3 separate regions of the Homo sapiens genome follow, and all the other regions are linked to region 3. The links are contacts of gene promoters, found by promoter capture Hi-C in blood cells and fetal thymus (Javierre and others, 2016). All regions are on one chromosome and are shown on one strand. The core of a region is centred on a gene start or on the middle of the fragment in contact, and the rest is flanking DNA. Distances in the headings are between cores, read along the strand shown.

What was found. The method cuts DNA at HindIII sites, captures the fragments that hold promoters and counts their contacts. A CHiCAGO score of 5 or more calls a contact.
Region 1: a fragment that was not itself captured here is called in contact with the fragment with the promoter of USP32 in region 3 in 14 of 17 cell types (endothelial precursors, fetal thymus, naive CD8 T cells and 11 more); the score reaches 11.2 in endothelial precursors.
Region 2: a contact is called between a fragment that was not itself captured here and the fragment with the promoter of USP32 in region 3, in 5 of 17 cell types (total B cells, naive B cells, endothelial precursors and 2 more). The highest score is 9.0, in total B cells.

Annotation. Positions count from the first base shown.
Region 1 is chr17:60,131,939-60,135,311 of GRCh38, reverse strand. It overlaps LOC100996660 (a long non-coding RNA gene), which reads left to right. Exons shown (of 3, transcript NR_187530.1): 1 at 1-556; 2 at 2,800-2,876. Among named protein-coding and RNA genes, the nearest start is that of CA4, 16 kb to the left of the region's middle. The HindIII fragment of the contact is 3,054 bases long and covers 385-3,373 here.
Region 2 is chr17:60,089,793-60,093,422 of GRCh38, reverse strand. No RefSeq gene overlaps it. Among named protein-coding and RNA genes, the nearest start is that of HEATR6-DT, 12 kb to the right of the region's middle. The HindIII fragment of the contact is 348 bases long and covers 2,052-2,399 here.
Region 3 is chr17:60,390,255-60,393,513 of GRCh38, reverse strand. It overlaps USP32 (ubiquitin specific peptidase 32), which reads left to right and starts at 1,381. Exons shown (of 34, transcript NM_032582.4): 1 at 1,381-1,632. The coding sequence starts at 1,575. RefSeq lists silencers at 911-1,230, 1,341-1,560, 1,591-1,650 and an enhancer at 825-1,666. The HindIII fragment of the contact is 3,969 bases long and covers 1-3,259 here.

The DNA.
Region 1 (3,373 bases), core at 662-3,161, 260 kb after region 3:
TGCTGCTAGAAGCCGGGCCGGGAGGTCTTGGTGCCGGACTCCACCCTGCAGCCCTTCCCTTTCGCCACCGCCCTGTGCTTAGAGAAACCTTAGAGTGGAGCAATGAGTCGCCCTTGACTGAGTAACTCTTCGGGGTCAACTTCTCCTTCCACGCCAAGGAAAGGATTCCAGGGCGATGTTTCTGGAAATAGAGATCTGACCAAGCCACTGCTCTGGTGAAAATTCAGTGGGTCCCTAGCACCTAGTGCAGCGGCTCCTAGCCTGAGTATTGCCGTCTTTCGGTGGGGAGGGGTTGGGTTTTTTTGTAGCATCTGTTGATCTGATCTCCAACATCCTCCACGTCAATTCCCACTCCACCCACATCCCTTATCCTATACGTAAGCTTTCCAGCCACGGTGCTGGCTTGGGTGGGGGTGCGTGCGGTGCTGACACCAAAATGGAGGTCCCGTGTTTCTGAGAGTCTCTTTCAGAGCAATGCAAACCTGAAACTACTCCTGCCAAGAAACGATTGCAGCTCTTCCCGGAAAAGTTAAAGCCTTTGAGAAACAAAGCTGAGGTGGGTAACTTAATTAAAAAAATACAGAGAGGAGTTTCAAGTAGACTAAGTGGGAAGAAAAGGAAAGAGTCTTGGGTGGGGCAGGGATTCAGGGCACCAGCTTCCTTATCGCTGAGCCTGGGGGGTGGGGGAGGAGGGGGCATGTGTTGTCACGGGAGGCATTGATAGAGCAACCTCCTTCAGGGAAAGAAAAATGGAGATAGGAAGCAGAGTGAGGAAAGGCCACAGTGGAGTCTGAGGGCTTCGGGGTGGACTTCTGGCAGGAGCCTTCTCCAGCCATGGCTTTAGGGCTGATATGGTTAGGTGCTTTGTGTCCCCACCCAAGTCTCATCTTAAATTGTAATCCCCATAATCCCCACGTGTCAAAGGAGAGACCTGGTGGAGGTAATTGAATCGTAGGGGTGGTTTCCACCATGCCGTTCTCATGATAGTGTGTGAGTTCTCAGGAAATCAGATGGTTTTATAAGGGGCTCTTCCCCCATCACTCCACACTTCTTTCTGCTGCTTTGTGAAAGAGGTGCCTTGCTTCCACTTCTGCCGTGATTGTAAGTTTCCTGAGACCTCCCTAGTCATGCAGAATTGTGAGTTAATTAAACCTCTTTCCTTTCTAACTTACCCAGTCTTGGGTAGTTTTTTGGTTTTGTTTTGTTTTGAGATGGAGTCTCACTCTGTCACCTAGGCTGGAGTGCAGTGGCGTGATCTCGGCTCACTGCAACCCCCACCTCCCAGGTTCAAGCGATTGTCCTGACACAGTCTCCTAAGTAGCTGGGATTACAGGCACACACCACCACGCCCAGCTAATTTTTGTATTTTTAGTAGAGACGGAGTTTCACCATGTTGGCCAGGCTGGTCTCCAACTCCTGACCTCAAGTGATCTGCCCACCTCGGCCACCAAAAGTGCTGGGATTACACATGTGAGCCACCGTGCCCGGCCTTTTTGTTTTGTTTTGTTTTTGAGACAGAGTCTCACTCTGTCACCCAGGCTGGAGTGCAGTGGTGTGATCTGGCTTACTGCAACCCGCACCTCCTGGGTTGAAGTGATTTTCCTGCCTCAGGCGCCCACCACCACGCCTGGCCATGGGCAGCTCTTTATAGCAGTATGAAAACAGGGTCCCTCTCGGTTGTCCTGTCTGGACTGTCAGTTCACCTGAGCTAGACTCAGGCAGGGGGCTTCCTTTGGCTTTGCTCACCTTGCTGCTGTGGGTCCACTTCAATAAGATGACAACAAAGCAGAGCTCACCTGAGGACATGCAAGAGCCCTCGTTTATGGAGCTTGCAGACTTCACAAGACTCCTAAGAATTGTTGAACGATCGCTGGTTACGGCTTCTTGAGATGGATTACTTGCTTGCTGAAGCACCTGCTTGCTTGACTGTTGCTGCCTGAATTCCTCTTTTTCCCAGGAGACCAGCTAGGGTGGGGAGAGCCTTGCTGGAGCCCTAAGCAAGGAAGGCTGATTTCCAGGGGTGTAGGCTGGCTGACACGGGTGTCACTTTGTTATAGATTAAGATATACCACATAAGCAATATGGCAAAGTTGGGGGTTTTTTTTTGTTTTGTTTTTGTTTTTGAGATGGAGTTTCGCTCTTGTTGCCCAGGCAGGAGTGCAATGGTGCAATCTGGGCTCACTGCAACCTCTGCCTCCCACGTTCAAGCAGTTCTTCTGCCTCAGCCTCCTGAGTAGCTGGGATTACTGGCATGCGCCACCACGCCCGGCTAATTTTGTATTTTTAGTAGAGACAGAGTTTCTCCATGTTGGTCAGGCTGGACTCGAACTCCCGACCTCAGGTGATCCACCTGCCTCGGCCTCTCAAAGTGCTGGGATTACAGGCGTGAGCCACCATGCCTGGCATATATGGCAAAGTTTTAACACCATTTTTTACTAAGATAAGTATCATAAAGGACTTTGTAAAGAATATATTACAACCGATCAGGCCAGTGGCTTTTTGTTTGTTTGTTTAGCAGGATTTGATTGAACCTCATCATGCTATAGATCTTCCATTCAGGGATGATGATGTGGGCATAGTTCAGTGGAGGCTGCCTGCAATGAAACTGGGCAGAGGCAAGAATCGAGAGATCAGCTTTAGCCCAGCTCCCAGGAGCACCAGAGTTAAGAAGGATATCTCCTAGAGGGAAAGCCAGAGACCAGGCAAGGGAACATACATGAACACCCAGCCTGTGCTCTGGTGTGAGGTTGCAACAGGAGTAGGATTGGTTCAATCAGCATATTTTCTTTCATGTACTAGGTTGAAAGTATTAGTCCATTTTATAGATGAAGAAATGGAGGCCCAGAGAGATCACGTGACTTAGCCAAGTCCACCAAGTGAGTAGACGGAGATGACCTGACCTCTGGAGTTCTGTCTCTAACATACCCTAGTTCTTTCTTGATTGTCCATAATATACAAACACAGTGGCCTGAGAATATTTACTCCCCTGGTCACTATTTCTTCAGCTGGAAAGGGAAACAAATTAGTAACATTTGAAAAAACAAAAACCCCAACAACTAAAAAAGTATTACTAAATGCAATGCTGTTTGAGAGAACAAACTGTCAACAAAAATAATACTTAATTCTCTGGAAGTGAAATTAATTAAAAATTCAGAGGAGATACCAGAACACTAGCTGGTAGGATTAAATAAGTGAAGGACCAGCTGGAGCAACATAGCAAGACCTCATCTCCTCAAAAACAAAAAAGAAAAGAAAATTAGGCGTGGTGGCATGTACCTGTAGTCCTACTTACTTGGGAGGCTGAGTGTCAAGGGTTGGGGGGAGAGAGGAGGATTTGGAAGTAATGACTCAGGGGGGTGGGGTTTCTTCTTGG
Region 2 (3,630 bases), core at 976-3,475, 300 kb after region 3:
AATGGACATGCAAGTAGGAAGGATATCGCTAAATTCTTTTCCTAGCAAGGGATATTAATATTAATACTCTGGGAAAGGAATGCATTCCTGGGGGGAGGTCTATAAAGGGCTGCTCTGGGAATGTCTGTCCTATGCGGTTGAGTTAAGGACTGAAATACACCCTGGTCTCCTGCAGTACCCTCAGGCTTATTAGGGTGGGGAAAAACCCGGCCCTGGTAAATTTATGGTCAGACCAGTTCTCTGCTCTTGAACCCTGTTTTCTGTTGTTTAAGATGTTTATCAAGACAATATAAGCACCGCTGAACATAGACCCTTATCAGGAGTTCTGCTTTTGCCCTTGTCCTGTTTTCTCAGAAGCATGTGATCTTTGTTCTGCTTTTTGCCCTTTAAAGCATGTGATCTTTGTACCTGCTCCCTGTTCATACATCCCCTCCCCTTTTGAAATCCTTAATAAAAACTTGCTGGTTTTGAGGCTTGGGCAGGCATCACGGTCCTACCGATATGTGATGTCACCCCCAGCAGCCCTGCTGTAAAATTCCTCTCTTTGTACTCTTTCTCATTATTTCTCAGCCGGCTGATACTTATGGAAAATAGAAAGAACCAACGCTGAAATACTGGGGGCGGGTTCCCCCAGTAGTTCTCATGAATCTGTCAGTCAGCTAGGGGATCAGAAGGGGGTCAGCTGATCTGTTGGTCAACTAGGGGGTCAGAAACCCAAATCTTGCTGGTTTAACTTGTTATCCCTTACTGGTTATCCCTCCCTGTGTGAAATCCAAAACTGGAGTACTTGAACAGCAAGCAGCTTTCCTCCAAGTGGTGATTCTGGGACCAGGCTCCTTCCATCTTGTAGTCTTCACCAGCTTCAACACATGGCTTCCAAGATAGCTTGCTTATGTGCTTCATGCCAGCAATAGGAAGAAGACAGTGGAAGGCTGTGCATGGGGAGCAGGGGAGTTAGGGGTCTCACACTGGAAGTGGAGTGGATCACTTCTGCTCATATTCCATTAGCTAGAACTCAATTGCATGGCTGTAGCAAACCAATGGCAAAGAAAGCTAGGAAATGTAAGCTACTGTGTCCTCAGAAAGAAGAAATGAGTCTGGTAAACAGCCAGCCAGCCTCTGCCACTCATATAGAGGCTTTCCTCCCCAGCTGTGGCTAAAGTGAAAAAGACTGACCAGCTATTTACCAAACTTAGTGGTCAAGCATTCCACAGAGTCATCCTCGTAATGTGAATGTTCTTCTGACCATTCAGAGCCTACGGAGCAGCAAAGCTGGTATTTAGAGCAGCTTTTGCAAAAGGAGAAATAAAAACTTAGATACAAAAGATGGATCAACATTTCTGAGAACCTGTAATACAAGAAGGCTTGAGTTTTTTTTTCAAGTTGGAAAGAGGAAGTAAAATGTTATTATAATCAAATATGGGATTTTCCCTACATCTGAATGTGCCAGGAGGCTTTTTACCCTAGGAAGTCTCTACTTGTTAACATTTCAGACAGTGTGACTGAATGAGGAATTCTAGATAGTTCTGTGAAGACTGGGGGAAGAAGAAAAGAGGATGCCAGTCCTTGTTCCTAGGCCAAGACCTGAGCCCTGTAATATTAATATTTGGATCTAAAATCAGGTAAACAGGGGTGTGTAAGGAAAAGTCATAAACAGTGTCATGTGAAGGAGAGAGCTTGGGATTTGAAATCAGAAAGACTTGGGGAATTAAGTTGTGTAAACCTGGGCAAACTACTGTCTCTTCGTGTGTGAAATGAAGACAACCTCTGAGAATGTTTTTGATCTTTAAAGGGGGTAGCGATAGGAGATCTGCATGTGGGGTGGGGGGTAAAATCTGGCACACAGAAGGAACTGGCCCAGTATATGCCAGTTCCTTTCTCCCTGCCCCATTTCTCTCTGTCATTCAAAGTGGCCACCATTCTTTAGAAGTCTTAATTATTAGGCAGAAGAAGCTGTTTCCCTTGGCTTAGAGAGCTTTTTTGAAAATACTTAATGCTAAACACAGGTCTATAGAATCCAGAAAGGTCAGCTTCCTACTGGGGCTTAAGCTTCCAAATACCTGTGTCATGACCCAGGATGCACATGCTGGGAGGGAAGACATAAATCATAGCCCATCTCTGCCCATCTGTGTTGTCATCAAAGGAAACTTCCCCAAGCAACATGATGTTGGGTTAAATAACTTGTCCTCAGTCATGCAGCTACTAAGTTGGAGTCAGGATCTGAGTCCAGGTGATCTGATTTCTGAGCTCAGATTCTTAGGCTTACCTGAGACACTATCTAGATCTGGTACAAGATGAAGAGGTGTAGGTGGAAGGATGCATGCCTTATATAAGATTGTGACTTTATTGACCCTCCCTTGCTAATGACTCTTTAGGCAGAATTGGTCACATACTAAGCTTCCTGACCTCCATATGGGAATCATGAGCCCGCATAGAGCCATGGAAGTGACAGTAATACTAGCTTCAGCCTTGGAGTCTCTTCATGGTTCAGTTTACAATATCCAGCAGAATAAAATAGGGACAGGTTCTGAGTTTTCTTTATCTTGAAATATTTCCTTAATTAAATTATACACTTTTGCATGAGCTGTCTGTAGATGCCCTGCTCTAGGGAATAGAAAGACATGCATCCTCTTTCTCAGAAATTCACAATAGTAGCTGCTAGTGTTGAGGGCCCTGTGCCAGGGGTATGTATGTGTACACATATTGTAATTTGGTCTGTCCAACATTGAAGTAGGAATTATACTCCCCACTTTACAGAAAAGAGAAGTGAGGCTCAGAAAGGGAAGTTAATTTTCCCAAGGTCACACAGCTAGCAAGTAGTGAAGCAGATGCGAACCAGACCCGTCACACTCCGGGGTCCTCACTCTCAGGCCACTGTGCTATACTCGGATCAGGCTTGTTTTCACAACCTCGAAACGGCCTTAGTAAACAGCCAGCAATAAGGGCCACATGCTGCTCCTCAACTCACTTAAAACCGAAGTAACAGTTTTGGGTGGATGGCACCTACTTTTAATCTGATTGAGTACTCAGAAGCCTCTAGAGTGAGTTGCTTAGCTCAAAGCAGTTATTTTGTGCTAATGAAATTGTGATTACGGGTGCCACACTAGATGAAGCAGAATTCTGTGACCTCAAAAGCTCATTTATCTGTACCCAGAGATGAGTCCAAATTATTTTCTAAGAATTTGGATGTAGCCTGACAGTAATGTGTACTAGTATAGACCACTGTCTTTGGAGTTTGACTGTGGTTCTGCCATTTAACTATTACTTGGGGCTAGTTAAACTTTCTGTGGCTTAATCTTCTCAACTGTAACGTGGCAATAATAATGCCTGTCTGTATTGGAAACCACGTGAAGTGTCTTCCTAATTACAATGGCTCTCTGAATGCTCCTCATCATCCCAAAACACACATTATTGAGGATAATAAATGCCCATTATTGAGAGCTGAGGATGAAAGATCAGTAAGACCCCATGCTAGCCAGCAAGATACAGGAGAGAAATGTAAAATGATCATAATAATTAATTACAATAGAGTCTGACAAGTCCTATGACAAAATAAGTACTAAAGAGAATGTTACTCTCCTAGGGGTGGAAGTTGAGGAAGGTTTTGGAGGTGACATTTAGGCTGGGCCT
Region 3 (3,259 bases), core at 132-2,631:
ACTTTTAGGTTGAAGACGCAAACTAAATAAGAGTTGAAAATCAAGGAACTAAATAATAATTCCACTGTACATATACACCCCATTTGGTTTCTCCATTTATGGTTTCCTATAGGTTGTGTTCACCTTTTGGCTCTCGTGAATAATGCTGCTATAAACACGGGGGCACAAATACCTGTTCACATCCCTGCTTTTCATTCTTTGGGAAATGGAGAGGTGGAGTGGGAGAGTCAGTCACATGCTGCCACACCATGAACCTGGAAGGCACGATGCCAAGTGAAATAAGCCAGTCACAAAAGAGAAAGTCTGCAGAGTTCCACTCAGAGGAAATACTTAAGAGTAGTGAAATTGATAGTAGGACAGCGGTTGCCACGGACCAGTGGGAGGGGGATTGGGGAGTTACCGTTTAATAGGCACAGAGTTTCCCTTTTGCAAGATGAAAAACGGTGGGAAATGGGACGTGGCAATGGATGCAAAACAATATCAATGTTCTTAACGCCACTGAACTCACTTAGAAATTGTGAAAATGGTACATTTTGTTACGTATATTTTACCACAGATTAAAACGACTCCACGCTAAGCCTTGTAGCCCTCATGTTTCTCGGGGAGAAACTCTGGGAGAGAGGATAAGCCTTTTGCACAGCGCTTTCCAGAGAATGTGTACAAGAGGCATGGTCAGGAGGAGAAGGTGGGCCGGGCAGGCGAGATGACCCGAAAAGGCAGATCCACTTCGTTAACAAGGTCCACTTTCCTCAGGGATCTCCCGCTAGGTGTGAGCATTCTTTTGTCACAGGAAAGCCTTGAGATTCTCCTTTCCTTTCACAACGCCCTCCCAGTCAAAGACGTCCCTAAGGTTGGGAGCTCCCTGCCTACCCACTCCTTTCTCTTCTGAGCCATATGCCGCATCCCTCAGAACCCCATTCCCTAAGATTCTGCGGTCTTCCATGTTAGGTCCCGGCAACTGCCACACTAACCGTCAGCTGCTCGGACCCCACCCGCCGAACGCCAGAACATGTGGGCGCGGGGGCGGGGGGGGTCGTCCTCAAGCGCCCCGGAAGTCACCACCCCCCGTCGCCAGCGGAGGCGCCCGGGCGGGGCGCGCGGCTGCGATTGGCGGGAAGATGGGACGATGCGTTACGTGCGGAGATGCGTCCCCCTCCCCGGCGCTCCTGCGCGCGGTTAGCTTGGGGAGGGGCGGAGCGTGCGGCCCTGGGCGGCCGTTACCGGGAACAGTGTCTGGCCTCGGGTCCCGTGACCCTCGGCGGAGCTGGCGGGAGGGGGCGGAAGTGGCAAGAGGGCGTGAGGAGGGAAGGAGAGGGAGGAGAGAGAGGAGAGAGAAGGGCGGAGTAGGAGGCAGGGGAAGGGGGCGGGGCGGAAGAGTCACGTGATCCGGCATGGAGGCGGTGGCGGCGACCGGGAGGAGCCGCCGGGGCAGAAGCCGCACTTGTTAGTGTGGGGGGAGGTGGGGGCGGGGGACGCCGACACCGTCACCGTCACCCAGGGACGCCGAGGAGAAGGCGGGAGGGGGGTGGGGGCGAGATCAGGCTCCGACCCCCCGCCGAGGGGATGAGGGGAGCATGGGTGCCAAGGAGTCACGGATCGGATTCCTCAGCTACGAGGAGGCGCTGAGGAGAGGTGAGGGGGGAGGGGTCTGGGCGAGCTGCCTGGGAGGCCCGCGACGGGCAGCCTGGAGGGTGGGTAACCGGGAGGGAGAGGGGAGATTGAGGGCGTGGGGCGCCTGAGGCGGAAGGGAAAGGCGGCCGGCCTTGGGGAGTGTGGTGGAGGAGAGAGGTCGGGTGGGAAGCAGCGTTTGGGAATTAGGGCCGTTTGGAAAGGGGCTTGTCCTGAGAGAGGGGGATCGGCGCTGGCAGGGCAGTGCCCGTGCTCGCTGGTGGCGTTGTGATCCTGGATGTGTCCAGGGAAGTCCTCTCCCCGTTTTCTTGGGCGGCTCCAGCCCATCCAGCCCCCCTCATCCTTCATTGCCATTTTCTCCTATCATTCCTTCATAAAAACCTCAAATAACATCCTAACCTCGTTCCTAACAGCCTTAGCTGGAAGGGGACGAGGAGGCGGCTGCAAAGCGCTCCTCTCTGCTACTGGAAGCCCCTTCGTATCTGGGGAGTCCCTGCCTTTTCCCAGAGCCTATGCCTGTCTCTTGAGGGCTGTGGCCATCCGCTTCTGCCACCCTTCACCGTTTGAGCGGCTGACTTTGATAAGAACGATCTGAAATGAAGTTGTGTTTGAGGTGAGATGAGACTGGACAGCTGGCGTTGGCACCAGACCTTGTCTTAGGTTTCATCTCCTCCGACGTTGACCAAAGCCTTTGACTGCACTTGATGCCCAGTTCTCGCTCCATCCCTCTCCATGAAATGGCATTGGGAAGTCCAGCATTCAGATATTGTGTTAAATCTCCCTTTAGAGACTGGCCTGGCTGCCAGTCCCGGCCTGCTGCTTATTGGCTCTGAGGCACAGTATATTGTTGGCAGCCCCAACCCCCTACCACTCACTCTGATACCGCTGTCCATGATCACTAAAGCACACACTAACTGGAAGTGTCTTGTTGCACAGTTTATGGCCGGAATGTCTTAATTTTTCATGACTGGGATTTCAGTGTGTGTAGATCTGTGTATGCTTGTATTTCTTTTAGACATTTAATGGATATTCTTGGTAAGAAGTGAAAAAACATTAAGAAGATTAGGAGCTAGGCATTATTGTTAACAGGTTTCCAAGTCAAGAAATCAGCCATGCTCCAGGTGGTTTTAGTAGCTAAGGATATAAAATGGTAATTAGATTAAAAGACGGGTATTCAAAATGAGGCTTGAGAAGTGAACTCTTGTTCGTATATAGGAAGAAGAGGGGTAAGTGGGTAAGTTCAGTTGACCATCACCTGACAGTAAGATACAGAATTGAGATGTATTGGTGGTGGTGGATTTACCAGAATAACACAGATATGCCTTTTATGTCTTTCTTTCTTTTTCCCTTGTGGAACAGTATAATAATTGTTTTTATGGACAATCTCATTTGAACTTTTTTTGTCTGCCCCAATATGAGAAATATTCCAAATTCTTGATGTGTTTCCAGCCCTAGTAGGCTAGTCATTTCCGGGATGCTGTTGAGCCTGACAGGTCTGGCCTCAATTAGGCAATGGCTTACATGGCATGAAAGAGGACATTAGTCAAACTGATTTACAGCTTCAAGGTTCAGAAGTGTTTCTTAAGTTTGAGGGTGTGAATACTAGTGATGTACCTGGCATTGAGAAATT